Linked DNA regions of Homo sapiens: all the other regions are linked to region 2. Evidence: promoter capture Hi-C in 16 types of primary human blood cells and fetal thymus (Javierre and others, 2016). All regions are on one chromosome and are shown on one strand. Each heading gives the region's core, a stretch centred on a gene start or on the middle of the fragment in contact. The rest is flanking DNA. Distances are from core to core; before and after follow the strand shown. Region 1 overlaps RNGTT (RNA guanylyltransferase and 5'-phosphatase). Region 2 holds the start of AKIRIN2 (akirin 2). Region 3 overlaps RNGTT (RNA guanylyltransferase and 5'-phosphatase).

Region 1 (4,159 bases), core at 1,500-3,999, 1.2 Mb before region 2:
CTCAAGACTGCCCCCTCTTCAGACACAGTTGCAAGTCTTAGCCTCCAGAACTTCTGACCAGCTAGCTTCAATTTGGAGTTCTCACAACCCCCTCTTTGGATTCAATTAATTTGCTAAAGCAACTCACAGAATTCAGGGAAACTTACGTTTACTGGTTTATTTTAAAGGATATTACAAGGAATACAGATGAAGAGATGCATAGGATGAAGCATGGGGAAAAGAGTGCAGAGCTTTCACGTCCACCCTGGATGTGCCACCCTCCAGTAACGTCCACGTGTTCTGCTGTCTGGAAGCTCCCCAAACCCTGTCCTTGGTCTTTTGTGGAGGCTTCATTATGTAGGCGTGAGGGAGTAAACCATTGACCATTGGTGATCAACTTAATCTTCAGCCCGTTCTCCTTCCTAGAAGATGTGGGGTGGTGTTGAAAGTCCCAACACTCTAATCTTGCCATGTTCTTTCCTAGTCCCCATCCCGAAGCTACCTAGAGCTGCCAACCATCAGTCAACTCATTAATATACAAGAAAGCATCATTTTGGTGTTTCTGAGGATTTTAGGATTTGTATGCCAGGAAACGGTTGAAGAACAAATATATGTATATTTCACAATATCACAGATGCAAACAAATGATGTTTAAATTATCTGGTCTTTTTCTGAGATTCATTAAGTTTAGATTGTATTTCTATGGAATTATAGTATAAATCATAATTAGGTGCCTAAACTAGCCTCTAAAGCTTATTCCTAAGGTAGCTAAATTACTTATTATGTATATATACTATGAAAAATGACAAAATGTACTGTTTCAACACTGGTAATTAAGCAAACTGCCATTGTAACATAAGAAGTTTATGAAAACTATTTTGAATAATTTAAAAACTTTGGGGAAAACTGGATTTTATAAGATAAGGAGATAGAGACTATTATATAAGGAGGTTGTGAAAGGGGTTTTGACACTGATTCTTTATTGTCTAGATGGATTAAACAACTTATTACTTTAAATTTTGCTTTATACAGAAGTGTCACTAGCTTTGATCAGAGTTTTCGTTGGTTCATGAATGGAACTAAGTTAAAGGAGGTGAGAAGGAGAAATACGTTTTTTCTTTTTAAAAAGTTGTAAAATATACTTAAGATTTCTTATTTAAAAAAAAGAGTTGAAAGAAACAGGAAAAAATGGGTTAAAGAAGACATGGGTATATCTTGCAAAAGAGGTTATCAGAGGCAGAATTTACTGAGCAGTGAGGTAATGAGAGAAACAGGCAAAGTGTGCATGAGCCCCATGGGGAAGGAAGAAAGTTGGAGTTTGGCAAGTCAGCTGTTCTTGTATTGTTTTTTGAACACATGACAGGTGTTGGTGAGTAGGGGGCATGGTGTGACCAACTGCTCCTATGTGAGGAAGGTTTATATATTCTGTCTGGGAAAGTGGTCTGAATTTTCTTTATAAGAAATTTTAGTATACTTGAATTTATTTCTGTATACTAATACAACATTGAGAATTAGCTTTCAGGGACTTCTGTGCCAATTCTATTGGGAATAAAAATGAGAAGAAAGGTAGCTTGTATAGAAATAGCAGAGGTTTGGTAGTGAATTCTTATGAGAGAAAAGATGTACAGAGAAAGTAAACTCTAGAATTAGCATTATACACTTGTCTATGTTGAAGGATGGTAAATAGATGGTGTGTCTCTTGGCATGAAGTTACCAGGTAAAGGGCTAGTATTATGTAACCCTTGGTATTAAGGATATGTTAGGGACATTACAGTGGGATTTCATCATAGGCACATTAAACCTCCTTACATTTAGCTGTATATATTGAGGCAAAAACAACAACAACAAAAAACCCATTAACATGTTTTTTTTTTTTTTAAGTTAAAAAAAAAATAGAGATGTGGTCTCACTATCTTGGCCAGGCTAGTCTTGAACTCCTGGCCTCAAGTGATTCTCCGCTTTGGCCTCCCAGAGTGCTAGGATTACAGACGTGTATCACTATGCTTAGCCTTCTTGACTGTAAGCAATAGAAATCAACTTTGGCTAATTTATGCAACGGAATAAATAAGGAGAACCACTTTTGGAAAATGGATAGGAATCAAGGGAAGCCAGCAGCAAGGACCAGAGCCAAGGTCAGGGCACAGGAACACTTTGATTAGGAAGCCACCATTAGCACTTGCTGACAATGTCTTTGCTGTTGCTATAAATAATTCTGCAACTATTCTTGTGCCTCTCTGTCACTCAAGTTAAAAGTTTTGGGAAAGGAACATGGATAGTCTGGTCTAGATCCTGAGCCTATTTCCAGCCTGCTAGGGGTAGGGAAAATCTGGGCCTTTGGTTTCCATCTAAACTCATGGTGTCCATCGTTTCTTCCAAACAAAATGGGACAATTACTGCTTCCTTCTTAAATGCCCCATGGCTCAGTAAATATGCCCAGTTCCTGAAGCCAGAACTTGGAACTTCTCTCATTTTCTCAGTCACATATCCAGTAAATAGCATATTGAATTACTGTCAGTCTGCAACTTGAATATCTTGAGTTTATCTATTTATCTCTAAAATTATTGTTACTACTGTCGTAGTCACTGTGATTTCTCACATGGTCTATTACAGAGGCCTTATAATTTCTCTTGTCTACAGATTGACCCCTATTCTGTTGGGGTATACATTATGTGGTGATGAACTTTTAAAAATGCAGGTGAGATTATGTCATTAGTTTGCTTAAAACATTTTAGTGGTCTGCATTTATTTACCTCCCATCTCTCAGTTCGAGTCCACCCTTTTATTCTGTGTTAGGGGCTGGGACTTTGCAACCTACATTTCCCAGACTCCCTTGCCAGCTTACTTCGTGTTAAGTTTTACCACTGGGAGCACAGGCAGGAATTTGGAAGGTGAGAGAAGGGACTACTCTTATTCCCAGTTTCTGTAAGGACACCTCCAATAGCAAAGGACAACTATTACTCCATTCTCCAACTTCTTTTGTCACTCTCTGCACCAGTCTTGCTGTTTCCTCTCAGAGATACCAGCTTCTGGGCAAGGCATCCTAGGTAGATAGAGTGCCACTTGTATCACTTCCTAACCTGCTGGACTTTATTCCCTTAGTGGTTTGACCATCCTCTATTGGACACCTGTTCATAGGGATTCAAACTTAAGCTACAGGGCCATTTGTGGCCACCTCCTTAGAGGTTAGAGCATTCTGCCACATGGACCTCTTTCACCTTCTTCCAGGCATAGCCCTATAATGCTTTTCTTCCAAGCTCCTAGCTTTTCAATAACAGACCTCTTTCATTTTGTTCCCCTAGTCCTGCGGGTCATAGTGCTTCCTGCAACTATTAATCTCTGAGTTATTTCAGCCTTCCTGTTCTATGTTCTCAGCTTTCCAGTATCTTTGTAACCAATGTGCTGTATTATATATATCTCCTGGGTTTGAATTCTGCATTATGGTTTCTGTTTGTCTCATACAAGTAGTTTTTTGTTTTCTAAGATAAAGTTAAAAAAAAAAGTTAAAATAACTAGTAGCTGGGGGTGGGGGGATTAAACAGATTTTCAGACTGAGTACGGTGACTTATGCCGGTAATCCCAGCACTTTTGGAGGCTGAGGTGGGAGGATTGCTTGAGCCCAGGAGTTTGAGGCTGCAGTGAGCTATGTTCACACCACTGCACTCCAGCCTGGGTGACAGAGTGAGATCCTGTCTCAGAAAAAAAAAAAAGTTTTCATAATTCCTATTTGTCTGTTACTTCTTTAGTCTCATTTCATACCATTTTCCTGCTTTCTCTTTACACTTGAGTATTCTGAACCTTTTTTAGTTACCAGAACATTGCTGCATTCTATCTTGTCTGAAGGACATTGCACCTACTAGTCTGTGTACTCCAACCCTCCCATCCCTCATTTCTCTTCTTCTCTCACATTACAACCTGTGCTGGGTTGACTCCTACATATTGAATGTGAGGGTTAGTATACTGTAGAGGGTGTACAAACAAACTATTGTCTAAATTTTAATATCAGCGTTGCCGTTGTGTCAGCGTTATGACATTGGGCAATGTCTCAGTTTCCTCATCTGGAAAATGGGGATAATAATTTTACTGACCTGGTGAGGTTGTTGTAAGGATTAAATGAGTTAATAAATGAGTTAATAAAAGTGCTCTTTTCTTCAGAACATAGTAATTGCTCAGTAAGTGTAAC
Region 2 (3,790 bases), core at 797-3,296:
TTGAAGTCCTTGAATTCCCTCAAACATAGGGAATTTAACTCACAACATCACATTTCAAATGTAGGTTTTATAACTTATGGGCAAATCTTAATTTCAGAAAATATTACCAAGTGTTTAGAATTTACTAGAAATTTACCTAGTAGGTGTCTTAGTTAAGCTGCTGTTTCATTAAATGCTTATCTTTTTCAAAAGATTTTCCAAATGTAGGAAATGTAGGATATTTCCAAATATCCTAAATTAAAACTAGAAGGGCTTACTTGTTGACACAGTGTGATCAGGACTGCTGATCTCTGAAGCACTGGACAATTCTATAAAATTGTCTATAAAAAAGAATATATTGAACTACTTCTAAATATGGTTTAAAAATAATAGACAAAATGGCTATAAAACATCTGTTACTGAATAAAGAAGAATACATGAGCACTGGAAATCAGTATTTATAATCATTTGACAGTTGGCATTCACAAAATTGTTTCATATTGCACTGGTGATAGTTTCTACATATATCACTTTTTTTTTTTTTTTTTTTTTTTGAGACGAAGTCTAGCTCTGTCACCCAGGCTGGAGTGCAGTAGCTTGATCTTGGCTCACTGCAACCTCCGCCTCCCGGGTTCAAGCGATTCTTCTGCCTCAGCCTCCTGAGTAGCTGGGACTATAGGTGTGCGCCACCACGCCCGGCTAATTTTTTTTATTTTTAGTAGAGACAGGGTATCACCATGTTGAACAGGCTGGTCTCGAACTCCTGACCTCGTGATCCGCCTGCCTCGGCCTCCCAGTGCTGGGATTACAGGCGTTAGCCACCGCGCCCGGCATCATTTTCTTTTCTTTTCATTTTTTTCAGACAGAGACTCGCTCTATCACCCAGGCTGGAGTGCAGTGGCAACATCTCGGCTCACTGCAACCTTCGCCTCCCGGGTTCAAATGATTCTCCTGTCTTAGCCTCCCGAGTAGCTGCGACTACAGGCGCGCGCCACCACGCTCGGCTAATTTTGTATTTTTAGTAGAGACGGGGTTTCACCATTTTGACCAGGCTGGTCTCGAACTCCTGACCTCAGGAAGATCCGCCTGCCTCGGCCTCCCAAAGTGCTGGGATAACAGGCGTGAGTCACCATGCCCGGCTACACAGATCACTTTCTAAATTAGCGCTGTATTTGATTCTTATTTTAGGTATGTGACTAAAAGTACAACTTCTAGAAACACTTTTTTCCCCTTCCGCTTACAAAATGGATCCATCCAATATCTATTACCTAAACATTTCACTGTCTTTTGATTAGTTTTGTAACAAAGTTCACAATATATGCACCAATATTCAACAGAAGTAATGCAATGTCTGATACCACTTGCTTTTTACCCAACGCAAAACAATTTGATTCTGTAAGTCGTTCAAGTCCTATTCATTTACAGAAGCAAAGCTGGCTTTACAGAATTTCATTAGTGGATGAAGCAGCTACCTCCGAAGGGTAGAGCATCGAGTTGAATCAAGGATCCTGTAACCTGATACTATTACTGTTGTTCTGTCTGCCAGTCCTAAATAGGTTTCATAATCTCATTATCTCCTATCCTCTCCATGTGAAAGGTCTTGTTTTGGGTACTGTCGCTACCGAAATTAAGCTAACTTTGACTAGAGATTGGTTTATTATATTTCCCAGATCTGAAATCACTGTGGGAGCAACTATACGGAGAATCTTAAAAGATTTCTATGTCGCTTAGCCTGCTTTTGCCACGGGTTCGCTTTCCCATCTCCCACTGTCTCAGAACCTTCTCTTTTTTTCTCTTTTGCTTAGTTCCTCTTACACTCAAGCTGTGTAGGGGGATTTAAATTCCAACCCGGAACTCGGAATCGCGCGCCTTGCATGACGGAAGTCGTAGTTTCTGTGACTCCTCCCTTCCCGCCTTTCAAGCCGATTCCTCCCGGTACCTAAAAACTACAACTCCCAAAATGCATCCCCGGTTTGGCCCGCCCCCGTGCGCAAGCGCTCTGAGGCCGCCGGATTTGAATCGGCGGCGTTGTTATTGACGCCATATTGGGGCCGGCGGCGGGTGGGAGAGTTCTACGAGGGAGGGGAAGCGGTTGGACGTGTTCGCTTGGGTTCCTGCTGCGGCAGCTACCTCGCAATCTCTCTGCATCGATCGCCGCTCGCAAGCTACTGACCGTACTCGGGCGTATTAGGAGCCGCGTTCCAGCCTCACACCCCACGGTGCTGTTTTCGACTTCAGAAAGGATCTAGTCTCAGCACAGAAGCGCCTCAGGCGCGGCGCAAAGCTCGAGCGGACGGCGGGGGCGGCCGGAGCCTCTCTCGGGGGAGCCGCGCCTGAGGAGGCGGAAGAACCCCCCTGACGCGACTGGCGTGTGCTTCTGCCCGCCACCGCCCCTCCCGCTCTCACCCGGGCCGTCCCTGGCCACTGCCCCTGCCGCGGAGGCAGCGGCGGCAGCGGCTCTCCTTTCCACAGCCGGCGCTCCGCGACCCGCTTGGCTCCTGAGCCCGTCGGGTAGGCTCTCCTCGAGTTCCCGCTCTTCACCCCTTCCCTCACCCTCTTCTTTCGTCACCCGTCCCCGACCCCACCCGAGCCCGGCGCCTCAGCTGCCCCCGGCCATGGCGTGCGGAGCCACTCTGAAAAGGACTCTGGATTTCGACCCGCTGTTGAGCCCGGCGTCCCCGAAGCGCAGGCGATGTGCGCCATTGTCGGCGCCCACCTCGGCCGCTGCCTCCCCGTTGTCGGCGGCCGCGGCCACCGCCGCCTCCTTCTCCGCTGCGGCCGCCTCGCCGCAGAAGTATCTCCGAATGGAGCCATCCCCCTTCGGCGACGTCTCCTCCCGCCTCACCACAGGTGGGACCCGGCCCCGCGGCCGCCGGGGTAGTGGAGAGAACTGGGAACAGGGGTCCTGGGGTGTGGGATGCGGCCCCTGGGGTGGGGGTGCCGGACTGTGTGGTTCTTGTTCTTAGCAAAGTAGTAGGGCAGCCACGTTTTTCACTAGGTCCTCGTAGCCCGAGGACCTAATAAGACACAATAGAAATGGGCTGATGTCAAGGGGATAGTGTTTGGAGGTGGGTAGGGGCTTTGCCTTGCCCGTATTGGGTAGAACAGGGACATCTTTTTCTTTGGGCCGAATGATTGGAATTGTTTCCGTAGTCGCTGGAGCCCCAGCGGAAATGATCAGAGAGGACGATATTATTCGTAAATTTAGGCGAAAGGGTCACATTTCACCCCAATCTGGATGTGTGCTTGCCGTAATCGATTGGTTGCAGCTATTAACTCTGGGACTGGGTGGTTTGAGGCGAGGCTACAGCCCCTCCTTCAGTTCAGACACGGCTGATTTTAGTATAGTGGGGGTGGGGGGTGGGGGATGGATGTCACTAGGGCGAGATCTAGGCCTGTCATTAATCACCCACAAGAACGCCACTTTGGCTGAGTCAAGACCTGTTTCCCTAGCAGGGTCAACAACAAAGAAAATGCTCTTCCCGAGTACTGTAATATGATCACACTATAAGTCTAGACCTTGAGAAATGTTGAACTTTTAATAAGCATATTGCATTGAAAATTGGGGCTGAGGAGTTGCTTTTATTTGGAAATGTTTTATTTTTGCCCAACAAAGTATGCTGGGGGAAAACAACCTAGCCTTGAGAATAATGAAGAAATCAACCCAAGATTCCAAGGGACTTCAGACTTTTGCTTTTCATCTTGAAACATTTCCTGAGAGAGACTGGGGAATGTCTTTTGGCTGCTTTGTAGGGCATGTGTATGCCCAGTTTTTTCTGTACTTTGAAATCCTTGTGTGCCCCTGGCACAA
Region 3 (3,953 bases), core at 435-2,934, 1.1 Mb before region 2:
TTTCAAGTAGTAGAGATATAATTGTTTTTTAATGTTTTCATCACTATTTTGATTTTCCTATAAGGTGGTTCAGCTTGATTTTATGTATCTGGTATTCATCAGTTTGCATAGAAATTTAGAGTCAGCTTTGATTTTAATATTGCATTCTTTTGAAATATTAATATTTTTATTAAATCTTTACTACTGCCAGGTATATTGAATGTTATGGATAGATTGTAAAATGAAAATTGGAATTAGCCTAATGCCTTGTCTTGAAGTACATGACAAATTAGAATGGTTTTCCTCTGTAGCAAGGATGTTACCATGGTGAGAGCTTCTGTTTCCATGACATTTGCTTGCATATTTTGATAGGTCTTCATTTGAAGAAGGGCTCTGTTTTCTGGCAGGCTGCAAAAGTGTCATTCTATCTTTTCTCAAAATGTGTTACTTTTATTGAAAAATATAATTTTCCAAGGAATTGTAATAGCAAAGTGCCAAGAAAGAAAATATACCTTATTTTATTTTTTTTTCCTTGTTCATCTTTTAGAGCACAGCAAAATATTCTTAGCTTGCTTTGTGTAAGGAAGAAAAAGCAAAACATCATTTTCAAGTTTTTAAAATAAATATTTACTTTTTTTTGAATTTTGTTGGCAAAATAAACAGCTACAGATGCATAATTTGTAATCAGTCTCAGCTAGATATAGATATATCTGTACAACTAAAAGGAATTGCTAATGATGATATATTGGTAGCAGAGAAAGGGGAAATAAATATAAATAAGGACTTCACAAAAATGAAAGAAGCGGTGAATTCCTAGAGGGTAAATATACAGAATACCAAATCAGTTCTCATATAAATGATACATATTAAACACTTAATGAATTAGGGATAGTTCTTTTTATTAATAACTTATGTTTAATGTTGAAACATTAATGGTAGATTTTTAAAATTGTCATTTTACAGTGGTATAATTTTAATTTTTAAACCAGATAATACAATCACGTGGTTCAGAAATTTTAACATGTATTTAAAAAATACATAGAAGAAAATTTCCCTCTCATACTTCTTCCCAGTTTCTTTATATATATAGAAGCAAATACAAATGTGTGAATACATTCTTATTTTCATTCCACTTTTTTAAAAAGATAGCATATTATTTTACACTTTGCTTTTCAGAATTTGTCCGGGTATATTTTTAATGTCTATTTTGTTAGCGCTCTGATTTAGGCATCTAGGGAGACATATTGGAATCATAGCAAAAAGATAGGGTTTATTAATTGATATTTCTTATCCCTTATGCTTATAGCAATTCCACATTTTAGAAGGAAATATTTAAAAGCACACATTTTGTCTATGTAGGGTCAGAAAATTGATTTTCCTTTTGTTGTCCAAGTTCAGTGATAACTTTAGTAGCTCTTTCTACTGACAGACCAATTCATTCTGTAAGAGCTACAAACTGAAATAGTCTCTAAAGAATATGTATTTATACATGCTATTTCTTCTGCCTGAAACTATTTTCTTTTCTATATTACTCCCATTTATCCTTCAACTATCAAGTTAGATGTGCTTCCTTGAGGAAGCCTGGTTGTATAGGTGAGCATGACTCTCCCCTGTGCCTCCACAGTATTCCCATTGGCCTCAAAGCACTTAACGTGTATTAATTTTTAGTTATTTAAACATTACCATTTCTCTTACTAGATTGTAAGTACCATGAAGACAGAGACCATCTCTGTCTCATTCACAGTGATATTTTTAGTGCTTGTAGCAGTAGGGTGAATATTAAGTACTGTGCTGTACGTGTGGGCAATCTGAATGTCTGCTGCTCAGATTCACTGTACTTTCTCTTGTAGCTACTTAACTCATCCTTATTGCCTGTATAATTCTCAGCTTAAATTTTACTTCCCCTGGGAAATTTGTTTTTATCTTTTTGACTGTGTTACATTTCATTTTCTCAGCTATTATAGCACTCTGAACTTCATCTTTCATTAAATTCTTCACAGTTTTTTGTAACTGCTTATTATTTGTCTGAAACCCCCATTATCTTTATCTTACTGTCCTCTAGCACAGAGGTTGACACAGGCTTAGCAGTTGATCAATAGGTACTGGTTTAAAAAAAAAGAATGAATGCATACTTTAGATCAGTGATTCTCAACTGGCATGATTTTACTTCCCAAATAACATTTGACAGTATGTGGGGACATTTTTTATTATTTTGATTGGCCCATAGAGGCCAGGGATGCTGTTAAACCTCCTACATTGCACGGAACAGCCCCCACAACAAAGAGTCAACTGCCCCAATGTCAGTAGTATTGCTGTTAAAGAACCCTGCTTTAGACTGTGGATTTCTTTGCTTTCTCCATATTGTCTTAGATTTATAGATTTATAAATGTATAGGGCTTTTGAATATACTTGAACAGATATCTTAACCATTTTGTCTTTTTTCTTTAAATTCTATATTTTGTGACAATTTAACTTTTTTGACGTATAGAAATTGTATGTATTTAGGGCATACAGCTTGATGTTTTGATATACATTGTGAAATAATCACTACATTCCAGCTAATTAACATCTGATATCTCTGTCTACCTGCCATTTTTGTACCCTTTGACCAGCATCATCCCATTTCTAGTTCCTTCCGTTTCCAGGCAGCCACCATCCTAATCTCTGCTTCTATGAGTTTGACTAATTGAGATTCCATGTATAAGTGAGATCATGCAGTATTTCTCTTTCTGGCTTATTTTTGCTTAGTACAGTGCTCTCCAGCTCCATCCACGTTACCACAAATGGCATAAATTACTTTTCTGGGGGTAAGGCTGAATAATATTCTGTTATATGTACACCACGTTTTCTTTAACCATTCATCCATCGCAGGGCATTTAAGTTGCTTCCATATCTTCGCTATTGTGCATAAAGCTGCAGTGAATGGGAGAGAGCAGATATCTCTTCATGATCCTGTTTTCAATACTTCCAGATACATACTCAGAGGTGGGATTGCTGAATCATAGGGTGGTTCTGTCTTTAATTTTTTGAGGAACCTCAATACTGTTTTCACTAATGGGCTGTACCAATTTACATTCTCACCGAAGTATACAAGGGTTCACTTTTCTCCATATCCTTGACAACACTTGTTATTTCTTGCCTTTTTGATAATAGGCATCCTCGTAAATGTGAAGTGCTGTCTTATTGAGGTTTTGATTTGCATTTCCCTGCTGATTAGAAATGCTGAGCAGCTTTTCAATAGGTCTGTTGGCCATCTACGTTTCTTATTTTGAGAAGTGTCTATTCAGGGCCCTTACCCATTTTTAACAGGTTATTTGTATTTTTAATATTGAGTTGTATGATTTTATATATTGGATATTAACCCCTGTGGATGTATAGTTTGAAGATTATTTTTTCTCATTTCATAGGTGACCTTTCACTTTGTTCATTGTTTCTTTTGCTGTGCAGAAGGTTTTTAGTTTGATATAGTCCCACTTGTCTATTTTTGCTTCTGTTGCCTGTGCTTTTGGTGTTATATCCAGAAAATAGTTGCCAAGACCAGTGTCAAGAAGTTTTTCTTTGTTTACTTCTAGGAGTTTTACAGTTTCCACTTTTGTGTTTAAATGTTTAATCCATTTGAGTTGATTTTTGTGTATGGTGTGCACCTTTTTGTCTTTCCATTCACCCCGTACAATGTGGTAGTTAGTATATATTTTGGAATCTGGAATAAAATACTTGGGTTCAAATATCTTTTCTACCAATTTCTTTATGACTCTGTTTTGTGATCCATGAGAAAAGGGTACTATGTTAGATTGAACTACCTCATGGAGCTATTTTGAGAATAAAGTGATTTAAGAACACTCAAACCAGTAACTGGTGAAAAGTGAAAAACTCAGTCGATGTTAGCCCTTAGAAGTTATTGCTGCCTTAATTATTCTGTGTAAAGGGCATAGTAGGGGATAAAACTAGAGAGGATGAATAAGGCTAGGTAAGTG

Evidence for each region. Contacts are between HindIII fragments. The CHiCAGO score rates a contact against its expected background, and 5 or more counts as called.
Region 1: a contact is called between a fragment that was not itself captured here and the fragment with the promoter of AKIRIN2 in region 2, in 5 of 17 cell types (total B cells, total CD4 T cells, naive B cells and 2 more). The highest score is 6.3, in total B cells.
Region 3: a fragment that was not itself captured here is called in contact with the fragment with the promoter of AKIRIN2 in region 2 in 2 of 17 cell types (naive B cells and total B cells); the score reaches 7.7 in naive B cells.

The regions. Positions count from the first base shown.
Region 1 is chr6:88,858,523-88,862,681 of GRCh38, reverse strand. All of the region lies in intron 8 of RNGTT (RNA guanylyltransferase and 5'-phosphatase), which reads left to right. Among named protein-coding and RNA genes, the nearest start is that of RNGTT, 100 kb to the left of the region's middle. The HindIII fragment of the contact is 4,031 bases long and covers 734-4,159 here.
Region 2 is chr6:87,700,489-87,704,278 of GRCh38, reverse strand. AKIRIN2 (akirin 2) reads left to right here and starts at 2,046. Exons shown (of 5, transcript NM_018064.4): 1 at 2,046-2,829. The coding sequence starts at 2,595. RefSeq lists enhancers at 1,475-1,784, 2,095-2,154 and silencers at 2,315-2,484, 2,665-2,874. The HindIII fragment of the contact is 11,354 bases long and covers 1-3,790 here.
Region 3 is chr6:88,782,048-88,786,000 of GRCh38, reverse strand. The region is part of intron 12 of RNGTT (RNA guanylyltransferase and 5'-phosphatase); the gene reads left to right. Among named protein-coding and RNA genes, the nearest start is that of RNGTT, 180 kb to the left of the region's middle. The HindIII fragment of the contact is 4,619 bases long and covers 1-3,953 here.